Regions from separate parts of the Homo sapiens genome. Here regions 1, 2 and 4 are each linked to region 3. The links are contacts of gene promoters, found by promoter capture Hi-C in blood cells and fetal thymus (Javierre and others, 2016). All regions are on one chromosome and are shown on one strand. The core of a region is centred on a gene start or on the middle of the fragment in contact, and the rest is flanking DNA. Distances in the headings are between cores, read along the strand shown.

The links. Contacts are between HindIII fragments. The CHiCAGO score rates a contact against its expected background, and 5 or more counts as called.
Region 1: a fragment that was not itself captured here is called in contact with the fragment with the promoter of DERL2 in region 3 in 2 of 17 cell types (M1 macrophages and M2 macrophages); the score reaches 9.0 in M1 macrophages.
Region 2: a fragment that was not itself captured here is called in contact with the fragment with the promoter of DERL2 in region 3 in 3 of 17 cell types (neutrophils, M2 macrophages and endothelial precursors); the score reaches 7.4 in neutrophils.
Region 4: a contact is called between a fragment that was not itself captured here and the fragment with the promoter of DERL2 in region 3, in 1 of 17 cell types (M1 macrophages). The highest score is 5.1, in M1 macrophages.

The regions. Positions count from the first base shown.
Region 1 is chr17:6,625,562-6,628,261 of GRCh38, reverse strand. KIAA0753 reads left to right here. Exons shown (of 19, transcript NM_014804.3): 3 at 1-145. Among named protein-coding and RNA genes, the nearest start is that of KIAA0753, 14 kb to the left of the region's middle. The HindIII fragment of the contact is 4,167 bases long and covers 1-2,700 here.
Region 2 is chr17:6,606,801-6,609,500 of GRCh38, reverse strand. It overlaps KIAA0753, which reads left to right. Exons shown (of 19, transcript NM_014804.3): 10 at 1,037-1,153; 11 at 2,231-2,320; 12 at 2,539-2,628. Among named protein-coding and RNA genes, the nearest start is that of KIAA0753, 33 kb to the left of the region's middle. The HindIII fragment of the contact is 3,434 bases long and covers 1-2,700 here.
Region 3 is chr17:5,484,893-5,487,592 of GRCh38, reverse strand. It overlaps DERL2 (derlin 2), which reads left to right and starts at 1,415. Exons shown (of 7, transcript NM_016041.5): 1 at 1,415-1,524; 2 at 2,377-2,442. The coding sequence starts at 1,432. MIS12 (MIS12 kinetochore complex component) reads right to left here and starts at 1,027. Exons shown (of 3, transcript NM_001258217.2): 1 at 909-1,027. RefSeq lists enhancers at 408-517, 758-857, 1,478-1,537, 1,578-1,757 and silencers at 1,031-1,198, 1,148-1,307. The HindIII fragment of the contact is 9,497 bases long and covers 1-2,700 here.
Region 4 is chr17:6,580,021-6,582,720 of GRCh38, reverse strand. The region is part of intron 18 of KIAA0753; the gene reads left to right. Among named protein-coding and RNA genes, the nearest start is that of PITPNM3, 25 kb to the right of the region's middle. The HindIII fragment of the contact is 702 bases long and covers 1,067-1,768 here.

The sequences.
Region 1 (2,700 bases), core at 85-2,584, 1.1 Mb before region 3:
CCCACCCATGATCCGGGACTTCAGCCTCATCCCAGGATAGGTGACCACAAAAACATAAGTGAACAGAAAAGCCTGCTAGAAGTCCAGCGACTCCAGAAAGAACTGAGCAGTTGTATCCACAAAATTGAAGAGGTAACTAAAAAAGGTGAGAAAAATTAGATTCTTTACTTCGACCTAAGGCTGTGATTATGGGGTAGTTTAAATGCATTCCTTGAGGACCCTCAACCCCTATAGCAATTTCATTCTTTCCTTCTGTGAGTTGGTTCACTGGAGTGTGAGTACTCAGGACAAGACAGTTAGGCTTGGAGTTTGAACAGTGTCTTGCCCCAGCTCCTCTTTCCAGCGGAGGGACATGAAAGAACTTCTTCACTGTGGCTGCCCTTCAAATGTCCACTGACTGAGGGCCCAGCCTACGAGGTGGCATTAATGTTGGCTGAACCTTAGGTCTTCTGGGACCTGAGTGCAAATTATCCTATAATGTTTTCCCTCTTCTGGGAAAATTATTTTTCAATTTGCTTGAAAAGAGAGCATAATGTATTTATATTATAGGTAAAACCAGTTCTCACTTGGGCAGTATTTAGGTGAGTACACACCAGTGACAAGGGAAGTTGTGGGTATATGTGTAAAGTGAGCACAGGGTAGGAAGGAAGGAATTTAATCATCATATATGGTTTTCTACAGTTCTGCAGTGTTCTCAGGGCCCTTGTATTTCCCTGCTGAGTAGAAGACTGGTTCCACGTGGAGAATTTGGGGTTACCGTAACTAACAAGTAGGGAACCAAGCCCAGCTTTCAGATTGCAAGGGGTATGGAGTTGAGCATCAAAAGAAACCGTTGCACTAGGGTAGTACATAGTCTAGAATTATTTTTTGCATTTTCAATTTAATTAATATATGCATATGTACCTATATGCATCTTATGAAAGAATTTAAGGTACCTTAAGAAATACCTGTGATTGAATAAGATAAAACAAAAATGCACATGAGGATATTGTGGCAAAGGAAACAATAAGGAAAGGAAAAACATTTACTAGGGATGAGTCACAGATTTGCTTCTGAGCTTCCTAGGAGCCAGCTAAAGAGGGAACGTCAAATCACTTGGAGAATTTACAAAGTCTAAGACAGAAAAAAACAATTGTGTAAGGAAAACAATTATTCCACATATTAAGGCCAGAAAGAAATTTCTCCTGTAGGTCTTCTTAAAGAGTGTGTTGTATAATATCATGAACAATTCAAAACCATTCCAGCATAAAAATAACAGAAATGTTGTGGCTTGTTTCTCTTGATATTCCTTAGTGTCAGCCTGTGGCATGGACCCCTACCTACTTTGATTGGAAGCCCTGCGACCAGGGGAACAAAGCCACAAGGCCCACTGCTCTGGTGATCTGGCCTAATACCGGGGAACTGTTAGAACAGAGCTTTCAAAGTCTCTGTGGGGAAGGACTGGGTTGGTTTATTTTATTTACATGAATTTTCAATGTGTCATAAGTCAATACTTTGTGAACTATAATAAAAATGTCACAGTAGCGGCAAACTGCTATGGAAACACGTAAACATATACTTTAAATTTCTGTACTTACCTTTCATGGATTAATAATATTTTGCGATGGCCCCTGGCTGCAGACCCCCTTTGAAGTAGCCCCGAAGGCCCATTTGTGCTTCCCAGTGCTGCTCTGTAGACAGCTGCAGGCGCTGCATGGGAATCATCTGCAGTGAGCCTTCAAACCCCCCACCTAAGCCCGTTCCATTTATGTTCATAGAAGTATGTGAATCCGGATTTTCCCCTACCATGCAGCCCAAACGAGATGAAAGTAATTAGACATATAGGGTCTCTTGAGACTGCATCTGTATCTACAACTCCTGACTTCAGATTTTTGCTTTCTTCAAAACAGCCTTATACTCTTTGCATTGTTTGATGTTTTAAAGAGTAAATATTAAAAATTTGAACTTATAAAATACACTTTTACTAATTGAAGACTCCCTTTTCTTTGATAATTGGAGTATATTGGAGTTTCGTATAAGAATTTGTTTGTATAAGTGTATTTGAAAACCACAGCCTGGAAGGAATAGATAGATTGCATCTTCTTCAAACAGTTTTCCAGAAACAATTTCTTTGAACCAATCTTTTCAAGATATAGAGTACCAGTGTGTACAAGGGTATGCTTCCTGAGAAATACATGAAGACTCTAGACACTCAAATAATTTTGAGACTTGCTATCTTAATATGTTAGAGAAAAGACTTGTCTTTTGAAATCAAGATTAAGGCTGGGCATGGTGGCTCACACCTGTAATCCTAGCACTTTTGGAGGCTGAGGCAGGTGCATCACTTGAGGCCAGGAGTTTGAGACCAGCCTGGCCAACAGGCCAAAACCTTGTCTCTACTAAAGATACAAAAATTAGTTGAGTGTGGTGGTGTGGACCTGTAATCCCAGCTACTCAGGAGGCTGAGGCAGGAGAATCACTTGACCCGGGAGGTGGAGGTTGCTGTGTGAGACTGGTGACAGTGTGAGACTCTGCCTCAGAAAGAAAAAGAAAAAAATGTTTACAATAAGATGCTATCTTAATGTCTCTCTCTCTTTTTTTTAATTCTTCTCTTTTTTAAGACAGTCTCATTTTGTCACCCAGGCTGGAGTGTAGTGGTGCGATCTCAGCTCACTGCAACCTCCGCCTCCTGGGTTCAAGCAGTTCTCCTGCCTCAGCCTC
Region 2 (2,700 bases), core at 146-2,645, 1.1 Mb before region 3:
GGAGCAATTAGGATAATGTTGATGTTACTGTCTTGTCATCCTCACTCATAGCACATTAGAATGAGAAGCTGCCATTTCACAGGGCTAGAGAGAAGAGGAGCAGGGTCCAGTTAGGTGGAAATAATCTTTAGGGGAATCGGTTGAAGATAAAGGGGAGCTCGTTTGCCGTGAGGCAGTAGTTTTTGAAAACACAATGGAAAGGACCAGGAGGTGGAACAGAAAAAGGAAAGAAGTAAAAAGCAGTCATGTCAGGGGAGAAGGGAGAAGATAGGTGACTACAGGGTTCTGTCTTTGGAGCCATCAGAAGTCAGGGTGAGCAGCTTGGTGGAAGAGAAGCCCCCTAAGATTCCGAATGAGTGTGAAGGAATGGCCGTGCTCATCCATCCACTCTCATTTTCAAGTTAAGGAAACAATGTTTAGAGAATTTAATGTCTTATTCATGTAACAGCCAGACCTAAAATCAGGTCTTCTGACTTCATAATGTGCTTTTTTTGTTTTTATTACTCTATTCTGTTTTCTGTATTTTTGTATACAAGTATTAATATGGAGATTTACATTCAGTTGATAAGCTCAGTGGTTGAAGTTTGTATTACAAACCAAATATACAATGGACTGTCTTTTAGAGTGCATGTGTGGTGGGTAGAGGAGGGTGGGTGAGGCTTCTAGGCTCAACAGTGCTGTTAGGCCTTATAAAGATACGGAGTTGCCTTATAATATGGAATGTAATTAGTGATCCAAATCTATGTATTGTGACAGAGTTTTGTTGACACTCACCCAATATTCTGTAATTGATCACTGTTTCTCATTTAAAATGGTGATGGCTTCTTTGAAGCAAAGGAGAATTTCTGCCCTTTGACACTGTGCCTGAGTGCGGGAGGATCTCACTTTTCTTCACATTCAGCTTCTACTGTAGGGCCCCGTGCTACAGATCACCATTAATTTAATGCTGTTGTCATCTCTGAGCTGGCACCTACTTGGATGAGTCATTGGATACGGAGTGAATGATGACAAAGGTATGCTTTTCCATTTATTTCAGTGCTGCATGGCTAAAGGTGAAAACTAGCCCCAGAGATGCCACAAAAGAGCCTCTCCAGCAAGAAGATCCTCAAGAGGAAAGTCACCTGACAGGTGCTGTTGAGCATGAAGCAGCCAGGTTTGTGCTGGTATTTTTCAGATCTTTGAGAATTAAAGAGCTCCTTTTACATAGACTTGGAAGTGAACCCTTTCTTCTCTTTCCTACATTTAAAGTTGGTTATTTAAAATGTAGATTATTTTTAAAAATAGAATAAATACATAAAATGTAGTTTATTAAACGTTTCAGTCAAACTATATAGCTTATAGTGAGCTCTTCTATTTTTTCTTATTCATTCATAAATTATATATGTGTCAATTATATATCACTTGCTAGTTTTGTATGTGACAGTGTTATGAGCTCTATGGAGACTTTAAAAAGGGCAAATAGGCCATAATCCCAGCCCTTGCTTATTTATAGTCAATAGAGAAGTTATGTAATTAACTATAATTTAAGATAGAACACGGTATGTAACCTAGGAACTGAGAGAGTTTAGAAACGGGGGAGGGTTACTTCTGGCTGCAGAGGTCTAGGCTTCATGGATGGAAATTAAACTAGGACCTGAAGAACAGGCAGGATTTCAATATGGGAGATGAGGTGAGAACATTCCATAAGAAGAGAACAGTGAGAACAGGTTTCTCTGTATTCATTTGGCTGAAATTATTCTTACAGTTATGGGAAAACAAAAATGAAAGCGGTCCATTAAATAATTTGACAATATTCATATATCCTAAACCAAAAGAATCAAAGCACTTTTACATACAGCAGAGTTGTTCACAGTTAACTTTTCCCTTTTGTTTTTATTTGACTTCACCATGCCTATATGGCTCCTGGGGGCTCATTGTTTGTCTCAACTTGAAGATATAGCAATGGTTTTGTTTGAGTCTAATAAGAAACCCCAAGTCTGAGTGATAGCTGGTTTTCTTGAGAACGTTTGAGACAGGTTCTCATTGCGTTGTGCATTAATGTTTTTTGACATGGAACACGTTCTAGAGAGCTTTAGGGGTACGGAGAGATTATGTTACCTACTGAGTAGCTTAATAGAGCCTGGATTGGTGCTCTGCTCTGCAGTGGTCCTGATTTCTGGTCTGTTTCTGTGATGATGACACCCTGCAGTGTCGAGGCAGAATTGGTTTGACTCTTTTGACTGTCTGCTAGGCTCGCTTGGCTTGATGCTGAAACTTCCAAAAGATTGAAGGAACTAGAAGAGTTAAAAGCCAAGGAAATTGACAGCATGCAAAAACAGAGGTAAATATTTGCTTCTGAGTTAGGAAAAGGTAAGCAGGCCTATTCTACATCTCTATACATTAATGATAAATAGAGATTATTTAGGTCTAGCTACACTTCTGCCTCCTTAAAAGACTGAAGTCACTTAAGAAGCCAAGGGGGGAGCCAAGACTGGAGCTCAAGGGAGCCCTGACTCTGCCTTGAGGAGAGTTGGGGTGACTCTTGATACTGTTCTCTAGGCTTGATTGGCTTGATGCTGAAACTTCTAGAAGAACAAAGGAACTGAATGAGCTCAAAGCTGAAGAAATGTATAGACTCCAACAATTGAGGTATGTGTTTGCTTCTTAGGAAGAATAGTGGATGTTTGCCTGTTCTAATTGATCTAGATAGTTCTAGCAACC
Region 3 (2,700 bases), core at 166-2,665:
GCCACTGCACCCCAGCCTGGGCAACAGAGCGAGACTCTGTCTCAAAAAATAAAATAAAATAAAAATTTACGTTTGTAATGGTTAAATATGGAGTGGTTATAACTGTTTGGCTGTATATGTAAGGTAGGATTTCTTTCTGTTTTTCTTTTTTTCTTTTGAGACATGTTGTCGCTCTGTCGCCCAGGCTGGAATGCAGTGGCACGATCACAGATCACTGCAGCCTCAACCTCCCGCGCCCAAGCAATCCTCCCACCTCAGTCTCCCAAGTAGCCGGGACAACAGGTGCAGGCCACCATGCCTGGCTAATTTTCTTGTTGTTGTTGTTGTTTGAGACAAAGTGTCACTCTTTCGCCCAGGCTGGAGTACAGTGGTATGATCTCGGCTCGCTACAACCTCTGCCTCCTAAGTTCAAGTGATCCTCTTAGCTCAGCCTCCCAAGTAGCTGGGATTACAGGTGGGCGCCATCTCAAACAACAACAAAAAAATACACTTCCTTGATTAACTCCTTTCTTCGAATTCCCATTAGGACCTCTCTTCGGGCACTGACTGATGAACTTCTACCGCCTCATCTTCTCTGCTAGACTTAGAGTTCCTGAGAGCAGAATAAATGCGGCTTGATCAGTATTTGCCGATTCAACGCAGAGGTGCCCAGGTCATCTCGGCGAGTTGAGCTGTCTAAGACCCCGCGATCGCGCAGGACAGGACCCAGAAGCCAGAGCGCAGGAACTGCTTCCGGCCGGCTCCCGGCTTCCGTCGGGCCCCGCGCCCGCGCTGCATGCTGGGATCTTCAGGTCGGAGGCCGGGGTGAGGCCGACCCACAGGCCGCCTTGCTCCCTCGCGAAGACGCTTATGCCAGTCTCGCCCGTCCCCGCTCCTCCTCAGAGAAAATGCTGCCCCGCAGCACTTACCGGAGCGACCATGAGGGTGACGATTTGAAGCACACACAGGCTTCCCGCCACCTCCTTTAAACCGCCGCTGGCTTGCCAGGGACAGACGGCGCGGTTGGCTCCCCAAAATTCCGACTGATACGCGCCTCGGCGAGCGAAAGCAAACGCGGGATACTCTCGCGTTCCTGATTGGCTGGTTGTGGACACCTCAATTATGACAGAAAGGGGCCGGGCGGGAAAGTTAGCTGTGGCCGGCGGGGATTGGCAGAAGGAACCTGTACTTACTCGTTTTTCCCGGACGTTGGCTGGTGGAGAAGAGAGGGTGGGGAGATGGGGCGCTGGGGGGGGGCGGTGGCGACGCAACTCGTGATTGGCGGATGTGCGTTCCTTAGGTCTCTACGGATTGCGGTTGCTTGGCGTTGATTGGGCAGTCGCGGGAAAACTAAAGTGGGCGGGGGGCCTTTGGGCCCGCCCCGCCGCCGGGGCCTGCTGGCGGAAGGGGAAATGGGGTGGGTGGGGGGTGGGGCAGGCGACGGTGGGGAAGATGGCGTACCAGAGCTTGCGGCTGGAGTACCTGCAGATCCCACCGGTCAGCCGCGCCTACACCACTGCCTGCGTCCTCACCACCGCCGCCGTGGTGAGCAGCTGCAGTGCCACCTTCTCATTATCTGGGCTGGATATGACTGGGTCTTCAGGAAACTGGGGTTTGGGCCTCGGGGAGGCCCAGAGGGGCTGGTCCCGGGGATGGGTGGAGGCGTACAGGGATTACTCTGGGGTTCGAGTTGGCGCCAAGAATGCTTATCCAGTGACGCGAGAAGGGAGTGCTGCTTCATGGGGGGTCAGGTCAGTTTCTAAGAGATGAGCGCCGGACCTATAGCGGGTTAGGGTTGCGGGAGCCTCCCACCCAAGAAATGTGTCCGAGAGCTCTGCCAATGGCCAGGTGGTACCATGGTGACTAGTGAGAGGAAGGTCCGTTTAGTGAAGAAACAGGAATGGGGAAAGCAAGCTGGAAACTGTCGAGAGGGGAATGGCTTATAATAAAAAGGGTCTCTGGATCTAAATAAGGGGCTAGCTGGAGGTACCCAGCCCTAACGGTGGCAGGGTCTCCAGTCTCCGTTATTTCAAGTGAGTTTTGTTGTTTCATACAGCTGTTTCAGGTGGTGCCCATGTGGTGGGTAGATTCATAGCAGCTGTTTTTATTTGTCCTGTGTCTAAAATATCACCACCTGTCTGCCTCATTTCTTCATGTCAGCCTCAACTATTGCAACATAAAACAGACTTTTTTGTGTTAGGTATTGAGGATACAAAGAATTCTACCAATCCTAGAGAATTCTTTACCAACCTCTTCCTCTGGCCTAAGAAGAAAGGCTTAAAGGAAATCACGTCTAAGTGACCGAGAGTTGGAAATTGCTAGACCTACTAATTCTTTGTTGTAAATGATGAAATTTTGTTTCTTGATTTGCTTTAAGAAGCTCTTTTTCTATTTCAGCAGTTGGAATTGATCACACCTTTTCAGTTGTACTTCAATCCTGAATTAATCTTTAAACACTTTCAAGTAAGTGGTTCATCACAATAGTGATTAATGCTTCAGTTTCTTCTTTTTCTTACTGTTTAGTAGCAAATCCTGTTATACACTATCCTAAAAAAGAACCCAGTGGGGACCTTTGATTATAAGTTGCCTTGTCAGGATATAAAGCAGTGATTCTGCAGCCTGGTTGGACTTGAGAATCCCTTAGGGAACTTTGAAGAGATTCTCAAGCTCCTCAACAAGTACCAAATCAGAATTTGCAAGGGTAGGAATTAAAATCTGTGT
Region 4 (2,700 bases), core at 168-2,667, 1.1 Mb before region 3:
GAGCAAATGTAGTTTAAAAATTACAAAATCTAAAGGAAACCAAGAAAGAAGAGAGAACAAAGAGACAAATATAGAAAATGCCTATTATTTTAGAAGCATAAACTCAAATCAGAATAACATTAAATGAAAAAGGACCTTACATGCCAATTAAAAGACAAAAGATTGTCAGATTAGCGAAAAAACAAAAACTGGGTGGGAATGGGGTAGAAGGAATAGGAGAGGGGGAGTGAAACTTATCTGCATTTACCATTTTTGTGTAACTCTGACTTTTGAAACCATGTTAATGTTTCTTATACATCCCCTTAGTCAACAGGGATGGGGCGGGGGCCTTAAGTCGAATACAAACAGAAACATGAACTTAACTGTATTTCAAATAAATAATATAATCATATTAACGGCATGAAGCCTAAATAACTTTTGAACACAGTATGTTGACTCTTTACCTCTGGCTAAAGACAAAAAGAACTGTAAACACATAACTGGATTCTAGTTTGTAGGTTTCTTTTATACAGTGACATGGGTTAACAGTTGAAAACTATTTTCTCTATATTTTAGGATTGGTCAAATAAGTAAGTACATTGTGAATAATGGGAGCAAGGTTTCTAGGGGAAGGCTGGGATGAATATATGGTTTTTTATAGACGTAGAAATAGATACAGGGTGTTTCTTAGTTTGTCTGCTGAGAAGGCCCAGAAGCAGAGGTGCCAGTAGCAGTGAGCACACCCAGTACCCACATCTTGGTTTCTAAATACCGTTCTCCATGAAGAGGCACCAGATGAAGAGGCACGAGGGCTTCTTGGAAGAATGGCTGACTATAAGCCTGGGGCTGGAAAAATGTAAGATAAGCCTCAGACATACTGTGCTAGAAAGGAAGTGCTCAAAGAAAGATGGGGACATGTCGAGAGTTCACAGGAGTTCCCAAGAGGCACCTACGGGCCAAATCCAGGACATTTTCAAGCATCGAAATATGTAATAATAGTAATGGATTACAAACTATACAATAAAATAAAAATCTATAAGGCCAAACTGATAGGAATGAATACATAAGTAAAAGACAAGGGAAAGCTTTCATTACAGTAGAATGCCAGCTATTAAATGGAGAAGAAGTGATGGAAGTAGAAAATCCGTGTTTGGCAACCCTGTAATAATTGATTTAGGCGAATTTCATGAGAAACAGGAGTTTACATAGTCTCAAAGTATCTCCCTCCACTATACCTATTAATTACAAAGGGGAAAACAGTAACTTTACAAGGGAGAAACCTGGCAGACATCACCGTAACCCAGTGATGCAAAATTAACTGACATCATTAATGGATATCAAATAGATATCATGGTGCACTGAAGGGACACACTATCCTTCTGTGGCATCTCTTTCAAAACCGTATGTCCTGAATCTGATCATAAGGAAAAAACCCAAATTGAGGGATATTCTCCCCACCCCCCCAAAAAAAGGCTTTTATTCTTTAAAAAATGTTAAGGTCATGAGAGGCAAAGAAAGACTGAAGGACTATTAGATTACAGTAGACTAAAGAGCTGTGACAACAAAATGCGACATGGAATCCCAGACTGGAACCTTGGACTAGCAAAAAATTTCTTTTGAAGGAAATTATTTGGATGGTTGGCAAAATTTGAATAAGGCCTGTAGATAGATAGGCCTGTAGAATAGATACTAGTTTTGTATCAATGTTAATTTTATAATTGTTATAATTGTACCATAGTTATTTAAGAGAATGTCCTTGTTTGTAGGGCTACTTGGGAGATACGAAGCTTGCGCCGTTCAGAAAATGAAGGTGTGTGTGTGTGTGTGTGTGTGTGTGTGTGTACAGAGGAGCACCCGTGCAGAGTCCCCTAGTGTCCTCCCCCGTCTCCTACAGAGAAGGCACACCCCTTCCTCCGTCGGCCGGTCAGGCAGCTGTTAGAGGTGGGGCTAGGTTGCAGCTGGTTAGTTTCTGGTCGCCTCTGGTTTCAAACACATTGAGGATGAAGTCCATCCTGTGTATGTTTTAGGCCTGTCCCTCTAGCAGGACTTTGGGATCTAAGCACCACCATCCTTCTGTCTAGGAGAGCAGGGCCTCTCACCTTGTTTTTCTTCTTCAAAAGTATCTTGGCCGGGCACAGTGGCTCATGCCTGTAATCCCAGCACTTTGGGAGGCCAAGGCAGGCGGATCACGAGGTCAGGAGATTGAGACCATCCTGGCTAACATGGTGAAACCCCATCTCTACTAAAAAAATACAAAAAATTAGCCAGGCGTGGTGGCGGGCTCCTGTAGTCCCAGCTACTCAGGAGGCTGAGGCAGGAGAATGGTGTGAACCCGGGAGGCGGAGCTTGCAGTGAGCCGAGATGGTGCCACTGCACTCCAGCCTGGGCAACAGAGCGAGACTCCGTCTCAAAAAAAAAAAAAAAAGTATCTTGGCTGTTCTTGGCCTTCTGAATTTCCATTTAGATTTCAGAATTGACTTGTTAATTTCCACAGCTGAGTAAAAGAATGGCTCCCATATATGGCTGTACATACCTTTATTTTATTTTATTTATTTTGAGACGGAATCTCACTCTGTTGCCCAGGCTGGAGTGCAGTGGTGTGATCTCTGCTCACTGCAATCTCCACCTCCCAGGTTCAAGCGATTCTCCTGCCTCAGCCTCCTGAGTAACAGGGTTTATAGGTGTGCATGCCACCACGCCCGGCTAATTTTATGTATTTTT